2 separate regions of the Homo sapiens genome follow, and region 2 is linked to region 1. The links are contacts of gene promoters, found by promoter capture Hi-C in blood cells and fetal thymus (Javierre and others, 2016). All regions are on one chromosome and are shown on one strand. Each heading gives the region's core, a stretch centred on a gene start or on the middle of the fragment in contact. The rest is flanking DNA. Distances are from core to core; before and after follow the strand shown.

Region 1 (5,673 bases), core at 1,327-3,826:
CATATGTAACAAACCTGCACGTTGTGCACATGTACCGTAAAACTTAAATAATAATAAAAAAAATCAAAATAAAATAGAAGTTGAAGAAAAGGAAGAAAAACAAAGTCAGGAAACAACAGAAGCTGGATAAGATGTGGAGAAATAGGAACACTTTTACATTGTTGGTGGGAGTGTAAAGTAGTTCAACCACTGTGGAAGACAGTGTTGTGATTCCTCAAGGATCTAGAACTAGAAATAGCATTTGACCCAGTGATCCCATTACGGGGTATATACCCAAAGATTATAAACACACATGCACACGTATGTTTATTGGGCACTATTCACAATAGCAAAGACTTGGATCCAACTCAAATGTCATCAACGATAGAGTGGATTAAGAAAATGTGGCACATATACACCATGGAATACTATGCAACCATAAAAAAGGATGAGTTCATGTCCTTTGTGGGGTCATGGATGAAGCTGGAAACCATTATTCTGAGCAAAGTATCACAAGGATAGAAAACCAAACACCGCATATTCTCACTCATAGGTGGGAATTGAAGAATGAGAATACCTGGACACAGGGCAGGGAACATCACACACAGGGGCCTGTCATGGTGTTGGGGGAGGGGGGAAGGATAGCATTAGGAGAAATACCTAATTTAAATGATGAGTTAATGGGTGCAGCAATCCAACCTGGCACATGTATATCCATGTAACAAACCTACACGTTGTACACATGTACCCTAGAACTTACAGTATAATTTTTTTAAAAAAAGTAACTTCCAATATTTTTACTATTAGCACTCTCCGAAGAAGTGTTTGTGGTGGCGGTGGTGGTGGTGGGGAGGGTGGCCTGTGTGTGTGGCGAGGAGAGGGGGCGGGTACAGGGCTGGACCTTGAGATAGATAAGGCAAACAGGAAGGAAATGTGAACATTTCATTAATATTCATTTAAAAAATATTCATTGAACACTTACTACGTGTAAGCAGGCACTCTACTAATTAACAGCCATTTCAGATTTTCAGAGTGCAAAGGGCCTCAAGAACAAATGATTTATTTTTTTGAGACATGGTCTCGTTCTGTCTCACACCCTGCAGTGCAGTGGCATTATCACCGCTCACTGTAGCCTCCACCCCCTGCCCCACAGCTCAAGTAATTCTCTCACCTCAGCTTCCCCAGTAGCTGAAACCACAGGCTTGGGCAACCACGTCTGGCTCATATTTTTATTATTTGTAGAGACGGGGGTCTTGCAACATTGCCCAGGCTGGTCTGGATCTCCTGGAACCGCCTTTGCAAAATTATAACTGAGGAAATTATGGCAGTGAAAGAAATCAGACCTAACGGATTCCATCTTGCTTCTAACTTTTGTTTTTGAGACTAGTCTCGCTCTGTCGCCCAGGGTGGAGTGCAGTGGCGTGATCTCTGCTCACTGCAAGCTCCGCCTCCCGGGTTTAAGCCATTCTCCTGCCTCAACCTCAGGAGTAGATGGGACTACAGGCGCCCACCCCCACGCCCGGCTAATTTTTTGTATTTGTAGTAGAGACGGGGTTTTAGCCAGGATGGTCTCGATCCCCTGACCTCGTGATCCGCCCGCCTTGGCCTCCCAAAGTGCTGGGATTACAGGCGTGAGCCACCGGCCGCTTCTAACTTTTAAGCTGTCCTTCTTCATTCCTGAGCCTAGGCTGAACCAATTTAGGGAGGAATTCAGTTTATGGTTTGACTCTGAAACAAAATTGATAATATCCCTTTCCCAAAAAGACCGCTTTTTTGCCTGGGGACCAGTCTGCCTTTGCAGAACCAACAGATTAGCTACAAGATTAGAAATTACAGTTTAGAGGTCATGCAGCCTCTGGCTCCAAGTTTCTGAACCTCCCCAAATTGCTCCTGGGGATAACATCACTATTGTAAAACCTAAGATAAGTTCTTGAGATATTTTGCAGACCCTGCTCTCCATGGATCAGTTGAAACCACCCAGATTGGTAATTTGGCTCAACCAGTTCTGCCATCCTACCCAGGAACAGAAAACAGCAAGAAAAACTCACGTCTACCCACTATGAGTCCATCTCCAACCTGACCCATCAGCACTCCCTACTTCCCAAGCCCCTAATCGCCGAATTATCTTTAAAAACTCTGAATACTGCTTGGGGAGACTCCATTGCAAGTCCCCTGTCTTGATAAATGGGCTATCGGTCAGCAGCAGGCAAAGTGAACCACAATATTGGGTGGTTACACTCCTAGGATCAAGCAATCCTGCTGTCCGGCTTCCCAAAGTGCTGGGATTACAGGCGTAAGCCACCGCGTCCAGCTAGAACAAATGATTTCTTAAAAGCAACTCAGATATTTAAATATTATTTAAAACTGTTTCTAGACAAATCGGAGTGACTATGGGACAAGCATATGGTCGCAGGACTTTGGACGCAGGCAGTGAGGACACCTATGAGCGATCAGTGGGGTCCTACGGCAGCCGTGGAACTGCTCTGCCTTGCAGGCGAAAGTGTGGTCAGCTATATCGGAGCGCGATGGGGGCCTGAGAGGCGCATCTGCGCAGGCGCCCGGCTCCTAAGTCTACCCAGGAACTGACCCTGCTCTCTCCTTTCCCTGTTAGACATGGTAAGTGTGAGTTTAGCGCTGCTGTCCGGATGGGTTGGTAGCAGACAGGGTGGAGTAGGGTTAAGCACACTGGTCACCTTAGGATTGGTTTCCTGGTGCTGGAGAATGGTTAGGACACAGGCCTTGGAAGGTTTTTTGAGTGTGAAATATTACTCAGCGTTTTCTGCAGACCTCGCGGGCAATGCCGCTTCTAATTTTATCCAGGCCTTCTTCTGTAGGGAGGGCCTGTTAAGAGTTGAGCAGCCCGATTTCTGAACCCCTCTAAAAAGCTGTGGCTGATTGGTGGCTTTTTTTTTTCTTGGAGAGGGGGTGTCAAAGATTTCTTTAAAATCGTTAGTGATGTGGTCTCGCTTTAAGATTTTTAATGGGATCAGAAGAAAATTCGGTACTTAATCACTTCCGGTAATCTTCATGACCTGTTATAGTGACTGCAGTGTACTCTCAATGAGGAAGATATAGATACGAAAAGAACTAGAGCCGCATCACATGGGGACTTCTGCAAATACAGAGACTCGGATTAAAGGTGGAGAAGATGGAGCTAAAGGAACTGCTTATTTAATACATTTGAACAACTTTTGGGGTACTTAGAAGGTGCTTTGAAACCTGCATTTGATTAAGCAAGAATTCGCTTGCAAGTTAAGGGTTAGATTTTTTTATTTTTTAAAAATATGCTTTCTGCCACATGTAAACCGTAAGTTGTCCTGAAATGATAAGCTTTGATATTCTATGGTGTTTATTTTTTACTTATCTTTTTGAATGAAAAGTGAACAACAAGAAATGCTGGTGGTAATTTTTTGGGTCAATGATGAGTTGGCATGTATTCTGAATCTAAAGTTGATTATTACTACTTTAGCTCTAGAATTACTCTGAGACCTGAAAATTACCTGAATCGTGACTAAGACGAAGCCTGAATGATTTAAGTTCTTTTTTGTTGGATACAATTTGTTGTTGTTGTTGTTGTTTTGGTTTTGTTTTTGAGTCGGTCTCCGGTCGCCCAGGATGGAGTGCAGTGACACAACCTCAGTTCACTGCAGCCTTAATTTCCCTGGCTCAAGCGATCTTCTACCTCAGCCTCCCTAGTTAGTTACAATTTTTAAATGGAACGTTTTCCTATTACAAGATGAAATCAAGTGAAAATTGAGATGTATGTTGAATCTATGCTGTGGGGCAGAAGAACGTTGTAGAGGTAAACATTGATGAGATTACCACTTTATTTTGAAAGGGCACTCCACAGAAGGATGTTATTATCAAGTCAGATGCACCGGACACTTTGTTATTGGAGAAACATGCAGATTATATCGCATCCTATGGCTCAAAGAAAGATGATTATGTATGTATAATTTTTTTATGTTGGAAAGTTTATTTTAAAGAAGTGTGACAGTCATAAGCAGTGAGACAGTATTTATGTCTTAAAATGGCATCCAACTCCATGCAGAGAACTGAGGATGTGCTGTGCCTTTGAACTTCAGTTAAGTGTGCTTTGGACGTCTGAGGCTGTGGGCTTATTAGAATCTCAGTTTTTACCTATACTGAGAGGGCTTGCCAGACAAAGTAGATGAGGGTTTGAGGTACAAAACGGGTTTCTCTTTTTGTAGTTAGGGGTAATACTTTCAAGGTCAATGATGTGTTGGCATGTATTATCTGAATCTATTGCTGATGTGTAATAACACTTTAGCTCTAGAATTACTCTGAGACCTTGAAAAAGTTTTACCTTAAATTTTTAAATTTCGAGGAAAACTCTGGGACAATCTTAGCAAAAAGTAGTAAACAACTTAGTTAAGAGTAAATGTTTTTCCCTGTAGTATCCAAACTCAGTTGTCTTAGTCTACCGATTTGTGGGATATATGGTATGTATTAATTTTTTACTTAAGTGTTAGGTTCCCATAACCTTGAAAATACTCTATTAGCAATCATGGAGTTAAGGCCATATGGATGGGGCTGGACTCGTTTCTGCCTTTATCTGCTATCTATCTTTATGCCCTGAATTTGGGTTAGTAGCAAACTAAGATGCACCACCTGTTAAAAAAACTTCTTTTTTTCCTTTTGAGAGCTATAACCTCACTTTGTTGCCCAGACTGGAGGACAGCGGTGCGATCTGGGCTCACTGCAGCCTCCATCTCCTGGGTTTAAGTGAGCCACCTGAATAGCTGGGATTACAGGCACATTCCACCATGCCCAGCTAGTTTTTGTATTTTTCGTAGAGACTGAGTTTTGCTATGTTGGCCAGAGTGGTCTCAAACTCCTGACCTCAAGTGATCTGCCTGCCCCAGCTTTCCAAAGTGCTGGGATTACAGGCAGGAGCCACCACCCAGCCACAAAACTTCTTAAAATATAATGCATTGTTGAGTGTGGGAAAAATTTGTTTCTGGAATCCTAATACTAATTTTCATGTATCATTGATTAGCCACTGTTTTATCTGGGCTTAAACATCTTTGGCATGTTTAGGGCATTTTGATTTTTCATGTAGTTATATAATTTACTAATAGATAATAGGTTTTGTACAGAGTCCACATTAAAATAGATGTCTGATAAATATGGTATAGGTACTCGGAAAGAAATACTCTCCCTGAACTTCACTGATGAAAAAGGTAGATGTTTTTCTGTCTCTGGCTCATGGGAGAAACTAAAGCACTGTTTGTATTGTCAGCCATAGATTAACTAATCCTGTGCTTCTCAGATAATTGTTTTTTTCTGATAATAGTTGTGTCTGAAGATGGCTTCTAACATTGAGCAGCACAGATTTTAAACTCACTACTGATCAGTGCTGTTAAGGTCAGGAGAGGTAAAAATAGCAGCATGGCTAATGAGTTACCTTTGTGTTTAATCTCTTTATAACTTGTTACCAGTTCAAATGACAGATTTAAGAAATTGTGTATTATTTTAGGAATACTGTATGTCTGAGTATTTGAGAATGAGTGGCATCTATTGGGGTCTGACAGTAATGGATCTCATGGGACAACTTCATCGCATGAATAGAGAAGAGATTCTGGCATTTATTAAGTCTTGCCAACATGAATGTGGTGGAATAAGTGCTAGTATCGGACATGATCCTCATCTTTTATACACTCTTAGTGCTGT
Region 2 (5,667 bases), core at 1,865-4,364, 440 kb before region 1:
CCTCGCAAACAAGAGAAGCAGAGAAATCTGGCTTTCAGAAAGAAGTTATTGAAGTAAATGTTCAAAGAGAAACAGAGACAATGGTCCTAATGGCATTTATCTTGTGGTCTAGTTCCTACCTGAAGCCCAGCGTTGAGTTTCATGAGATACCTTATAGTCTTAAACTGCATTCCCTTTTCTCACTTTTAACTAGTTCAAATTGGTTATATGTAACAAAAGAGCCAAAGAGTCCTATTAATAATTCGTTCTCTCTTGGCTTACATTTTAACTATTTATTTTAACAACATTTTTTGGATCCTTGCCATGAACACTGGTGTGAGGATATGAAGAGGAATTTTTCAGACTAAGTCTGCCTTTATGAATCTCATACTTGAATAAGAAATATAAGCTCGAGAGGGCCGGACATGGGTGGCTCACACCTATAATCCTAGCACTTTGAAAAGCCAAGGCTGGTGGACTGCTTGAGGCCAGGAGTTCCAGAGCAGCCTGGGTAACCTGGCAAAACCTCAGATTAGCTGGGCGTGATGGTGCACACCTGTAGTCCTAGCTATTCCAAAGGCTGAGGCATGAGAATCCCTTGAACCCAGGAGGCGGACGTTGCAGTGAGCTGAGATTGTGGCACTGTACTCCAGCTTGGGCGAGAGAGCAAGACAGATGAGAGAAAGAAAAGAAAGAGAAAGGAAGGAAAGGAAGAGAAAAGAAAGAAAAAGAAAGAAGGAACGAGAGAGAAGAAGGAAGGAAGGAAGGAAAAAAGGAAGGAAAGAAAACATAAGCTGGAAACATCATTTCAACACTGTGTGGTAAGAGCTGTGATAGAGAATGCTGTGGGGCACAGGGCGGGTCACGAATGAACAGGCTTCACAGGCTCCTAACACTCAGCTCTGGCTTCATTTTCTGCTCATGCTCTGACCCTGTGCTCTTTGACTTGAATCTTTCACTCTGATGTTGAACAGTAATATTTGCATCATTCCTGGTTCTAGATTTCAGTTCCCTAATCTGTCTGAATAGCTGAAATAGCTCAAAAACTTTTAGGGGTACAAGATTCCAACAATCCCCCATATCAAATATTCTAATTCCATAGATCTGAGGAATGGGCCTGAGAATCTGTATTTTTAGATGACCCACTAACTGACTCTGATGCACAGACAGATTTGGGAACCATTAATCTATTTGATTTTAGTCTCAATTTAATAAGTACATCCCAGTTTACACACTGTCATTATGTCTAGTTCTACTTAACAGACCAACCTAATGGAGAAAATGAGGAGAAAAGCAGGTCATCATGATGTGTATGAGTTTTGGGAGACACTACCATTAGATGTGAGGAGCCAGTGAAAGAGTTTTAGGAAGAGACACAGACATTCAAGAAAGTCAAATAATTTCAAGAAAAAGGAAAGATCATAAACTCTATAAAATTTATTCTTATTTGTACCAGGGACTACCGTAAGTTCTTTACATGTAGGTCTGCCATCTTGCACAATTCCACATAGAACGCAATGTGAATTGTACTTCTCTGAGCACTGCAATGCAATAGCCCTAGTGTATTTATTATGTCATTTAATGTTTCTAAAAATTCATGCCATTTCAATGTAATAAAATATGCCATTATTATTATTCTATTTTACAAATGAGGAAGTTGGGGTACAGAAAGGTGAGATAATTTTCCCTAGCTCACTCAGCTAACAAGAGGCGGAGGTGGCATTGGAAGGCAGACTGTCCAACTCCAAACAAAGCCTGTGTTGAACCATTTAGCAGTAAGTTACTCACTGGTCATTTTAAAGTAATCCCACAGATGAGTAAGGAGAAGACAGGTTTAAAGGGGTTAACAACTTCTATTGATTTTGTAATTATTTGCTGTTTACATTAAAGGTAGGCAAAACCAGCTTAAAAGTATTTAGGCTGGCTTCCAATCTTCCTGTGATTTGTACCTCACCAAGTGAGAAAGTGGATTGCAGTGTAAATGAAATGCCATTGTCGAATCTGCCTGAAAAGCTGACATTTTCTGATTGTAAATACTGGCTGCTTTATTTTTCAGTTGAAAATACACCAAAACCAGTCAGATGATAAGATTGAGCTGATTCTGTATAGTAATGACAGCTGGAAAGTGATTACTTCACCCTGCCCCCATGTGCTGTCAGAATTTGTATTGTCATGCAAATTTTTTATATCCTGCAAATCAATAGAGGGCAGTGCTTTTATAGGGGCCCTCACGTACTCTAATTGCGTCTCTGGAATAAATAGACTGAAGGGCCAGCTAAATGAAAAAAGCCACAGTGGTTCGCTGTCATGTGGCTTAGCTCCTTGAATGCAATTCATATTTCTCACTTAAAGACAAAAAACCCTAAAATTATATAATATTTTATAAGCTTCTTAAGTCATTTGACTTTCTGATCACCAAGTTTATTGTCTTGCAACAGTAAATTTAGAATCATTGAAAAACATTTATAAAAGACAGCTACACATTTGTTGTGGTGGTTAACAGTTGGTATTGCAGCCATACAATGCAATTTCCAAACCAGAAATAATTCATGAAGATTAAGGAAAATAGTTCAGGTAACTAATTCAATTCATAGGGGCAGATTTCACATGGCTCCATTGAAAGCAAATGGCAAGATAAAGCAGCCAGTGATGCTTAGAAAGACTCTTTTCTTTAAAAGTAATCTGTTTCTCAAAGAAAATGACAATATAACTACCATTGATAAGCTATAAAAAGTAAAAATCCAAAACATTTGATTTTATTCCTGCAGGAATATTCTCCTTCTGAGAACCTAATATTAATTCAGAGAGCAAAAAAGGAACTCAGGTGGGATGAATACATGTTCTAGAACTTAAAAGAGACCTACTGTGAGTAAGCAGGTCAGATTACTTTCCAGTGAACATGGAAAAATGGAGCAGTACAAAATTAAGACTTTAATATACAACAATAGCCAGCAGAGAAATGTGAATACTTAAGTACGTGTTTTGTTTTATTTTTAAAACATGCTTTATAGTATGTCTATAAAAGAGGGCCTGTCATTTCATTCAAAGAAAGGGTTCTGTTTTCCTCTAAGTCCCACCAAATAATAAGGAATCATGTTCTTAGCCATTTCTTACAGGATGATGTTCCCACTTCTTAGCCCAACACACATGGCTTTTTACGATATGGCTCATCTCACCAGTCTTATTTCTTATAATGCCCCTCTTTTAACTTGATCTTATGCAATTCTGTACTATGTATGGTTCCCCCCTTTTCATATTCATATTCTGTTCCCTCTGAGCAATGTGACTTTCTCCTCCTTATTCCCTTGGTGATGGCTAAAGGAGGCCTACACTTCCCCTCACAAACTTCCTACTGATTCTCAAGAAGGACAAGAACAAAGACATTCTACTGGCCACTGTGCCAAAGTGGGCCAAAGTGAATTCCACCCACTTTGACAGGAGAAGAATCCTGAGAACTTTCAAAGAATTCCATTCCAAAGCAGCTAATTCCATTAATCTCTGAGACACAGTACTTCCATTTGCATTGTTGAGCTTAGGACACTATAATACAGGTTATCTGTTTTCATGTTGTGGTAGACAGAATAATGGCCTCCCAAAGATGTTCACATCCTAATCCCTGGACCCTGTAAATGTTACCTAATATAAGGAAAGGGATTTTGCAGATGTGAATAAATTAAGGACCATGAAATGGTGAGATTAGCCTGGTTTATCTGGGTGAGCCCAATGTGATCACAAGGGTACTTCTATAGGGAAAAGGGAGGCAGATGAGTCAAAGAAGGAAATGTGACAACAGAAACAAGGTTGGAAAGATGCAATGTTAGAAAAACTCAACTGGCTATTTCTGGCTTTAAAGATGTAAGAGAGTCATTAGCCAAGGAATACAGAAGCTTCTAGAACCTGGAAAAAGTAAGAAAATGGATCTCCCCTGGACATCCTGCTAATCCCTTGATTTTAGCTCATTGAGATGTATTTTGGACTTCTAACATCTAGAATCGTAAGATAATAAATTTGTGTTTTTCTAAGCCACACTTAGAATTGTGTGGTAATTCATTACCACAGCAATAGGAAGCTAATACACATGGCTATTTATCCTACTGGATTACTACATAGTTTCTCTAGGGCAGAAATGAGATCTTGGTTATTTCTCTGTTCCTGTTACCTACATTAGTGCCTGTTGTACACATAGCAGGCATTCAGTAAATATTTACAAGATAAGTTTTAAAAGAATGTCAATGTAATTTTGATATCTTATATATTTAATTTAGATTATGAAAATACAACTAAAGGATCAATCTTGGCAGTCACCAGCAAATCACTTTAGATAAATTTCAACTTAGATTAAAGGAAGTTAATAGACTCCTAGAAGTGCACCGATGTGAAAAATTACTCCCCTTATCACCAACACTAATTCAGTATCTGATTGTAATGTCAAGGCAAGTAGAAGCTGACAAAGGAAGTAAGGGAGAAAGTATCCCATATTGGTGAATAAAAACTGGGTATCAAATTAACTGGTATAAAATGTTATTTCTACCATCTATAAGCAGTATGATCTTGGGAGAATTACTTTTTGCCCCTCTAACCTTCCATTTTTTCATCCATAAAATGATAGATAATGGAGGGAAAAAAAGTTGGGAAACAATTTCTACCTTCAGAGGGGACCAACTAATATGGGAAACAGTAAAATGTAAATTACCCACATAACTAAAGCGATCAGTGTAGAATCAGTACAAACCAACTTGTTGAATTGACACGTTGGCTACAAATAATACCAATAATTCTAGAAGGATTTCAGTGACTAAGCTGGGTGTGATGGTTATGGAATAACTTTTAGAAGGAGAGAAATTTTAACCATACTTAGAGGAAAGAATGTGTCATGTGTGAAAGCTAGACAACAGCACATACTTAGCTGTAACAAAGAGCTATGCCTAGGGAACAAGACATGACAGCAGTTAGAGGAATTAAGCACATTACCAGGAGTTGGAGAAGGACTTACACCACCCCCAAAGTCTTCTAAATAAGCAACATAATTGTTATGTGTTTATATATTTGATGCAGAGGAAATAAGAAAGTTAAGGCAGATGAATCAATGAGGAAATGGCTGTTGTATTTCAGACATAAGATGGTAGATGCCTGGCTGAGGCTGTAGCTGTGAGAGAGGATGAGGTAATTCAGGAAGCATTACAGAGGAATACATTTGTTGGGGGTGAAAGAAAGGGCATGGTACCCTACATCATCACCTAATGATGACAACGCCTCATGCAGAAAATGATGAGCATTCCCAAAACTCATCTCAGGCAGAAACATGACCCCACATTGGACATGGCATGATTAATGGAAATGCAAATGAGATTCCTTCAGCACTGATTTCAAACCAAACAATACAGTGGTATCATGACCTATGATGGTTGTTTTTCCTCCCAGTCTGAGTAACTTCCTAAATAAGAGATGATGAATCACCTTATATTCTACCAAGAATGTCAAATCTCCTGTTTTAAGAAACATTTTCCAAATCACTAGGATGTTTTTTAAGTAGTTTGCATCATCATTTGAAATAATTTGCTCTATATGAACACAAATCATAAACAATTCAGTTATAACCTTAGAAGTAACAACTAAAAGAAGCACCTCAAAAGAAAAAATATATAAAGCACTCAGGCTGCCTCTTAACAGACTGATTTTATAGGCAGT

What was found. The method cuts DNA at HindIII sites, captures the fragments that hold promoters and counts their contacts. A CHiCAGO score of 5 or more calls a contact.
Region 2: a contact is called between a fragment that was not itself captured here and the fragment with the promoter of RABGGTB in region 1, in 1 of 17 cell types (M2 macrophages). The highest score is 5.1, in M2 macrophages.

What each region holds. Positions count from the first base shown.
Region 1 is chr1:75,783,680-75,789,352 of GRCh38, forward strand. It overlaps RABGGTB (Rab geranylgeranyltransferase subunit beta), which reads left to right and starts at 2,577. Exons shown (of 9, transcript NM_004582.4): 1 at 2,577-2,595; 2 at 3,818-3,925; 3 at 5,480-5,673. The coding sequence starts at 2,593. It overlaps SNORD45C (small nucleolar RNA, C/D box 45C), which reads left to right and starts at 3,393; the gene lies at 3,393-3,470. SNORD45A (small nucleolar RNA, C/D box 45A) reads left to right here and starts at 4,210; the gene lies at 4,210-4,293. RefSeq lists enhancers at 1,159-1,378, 2,319-2,548 and a silencer at 2,609-2,668. The HindIII fragment of the contact is 7,492 bases long and covers 1-3,307 here.
Region 2 is chr1:75,340,822-75,346,488 of GRCh38, forward strand. All of the region lies in intron 3 of SLC44A5 (solute carrier family 44 member 5), which reads right to left. Among named protein-coding and RNA genes, the nearest start is that of LHX8, 210 kb to the left of the region's middle. The HindIII fragment of the contact is 1,500 bases long and covers 2,365-3,864 here.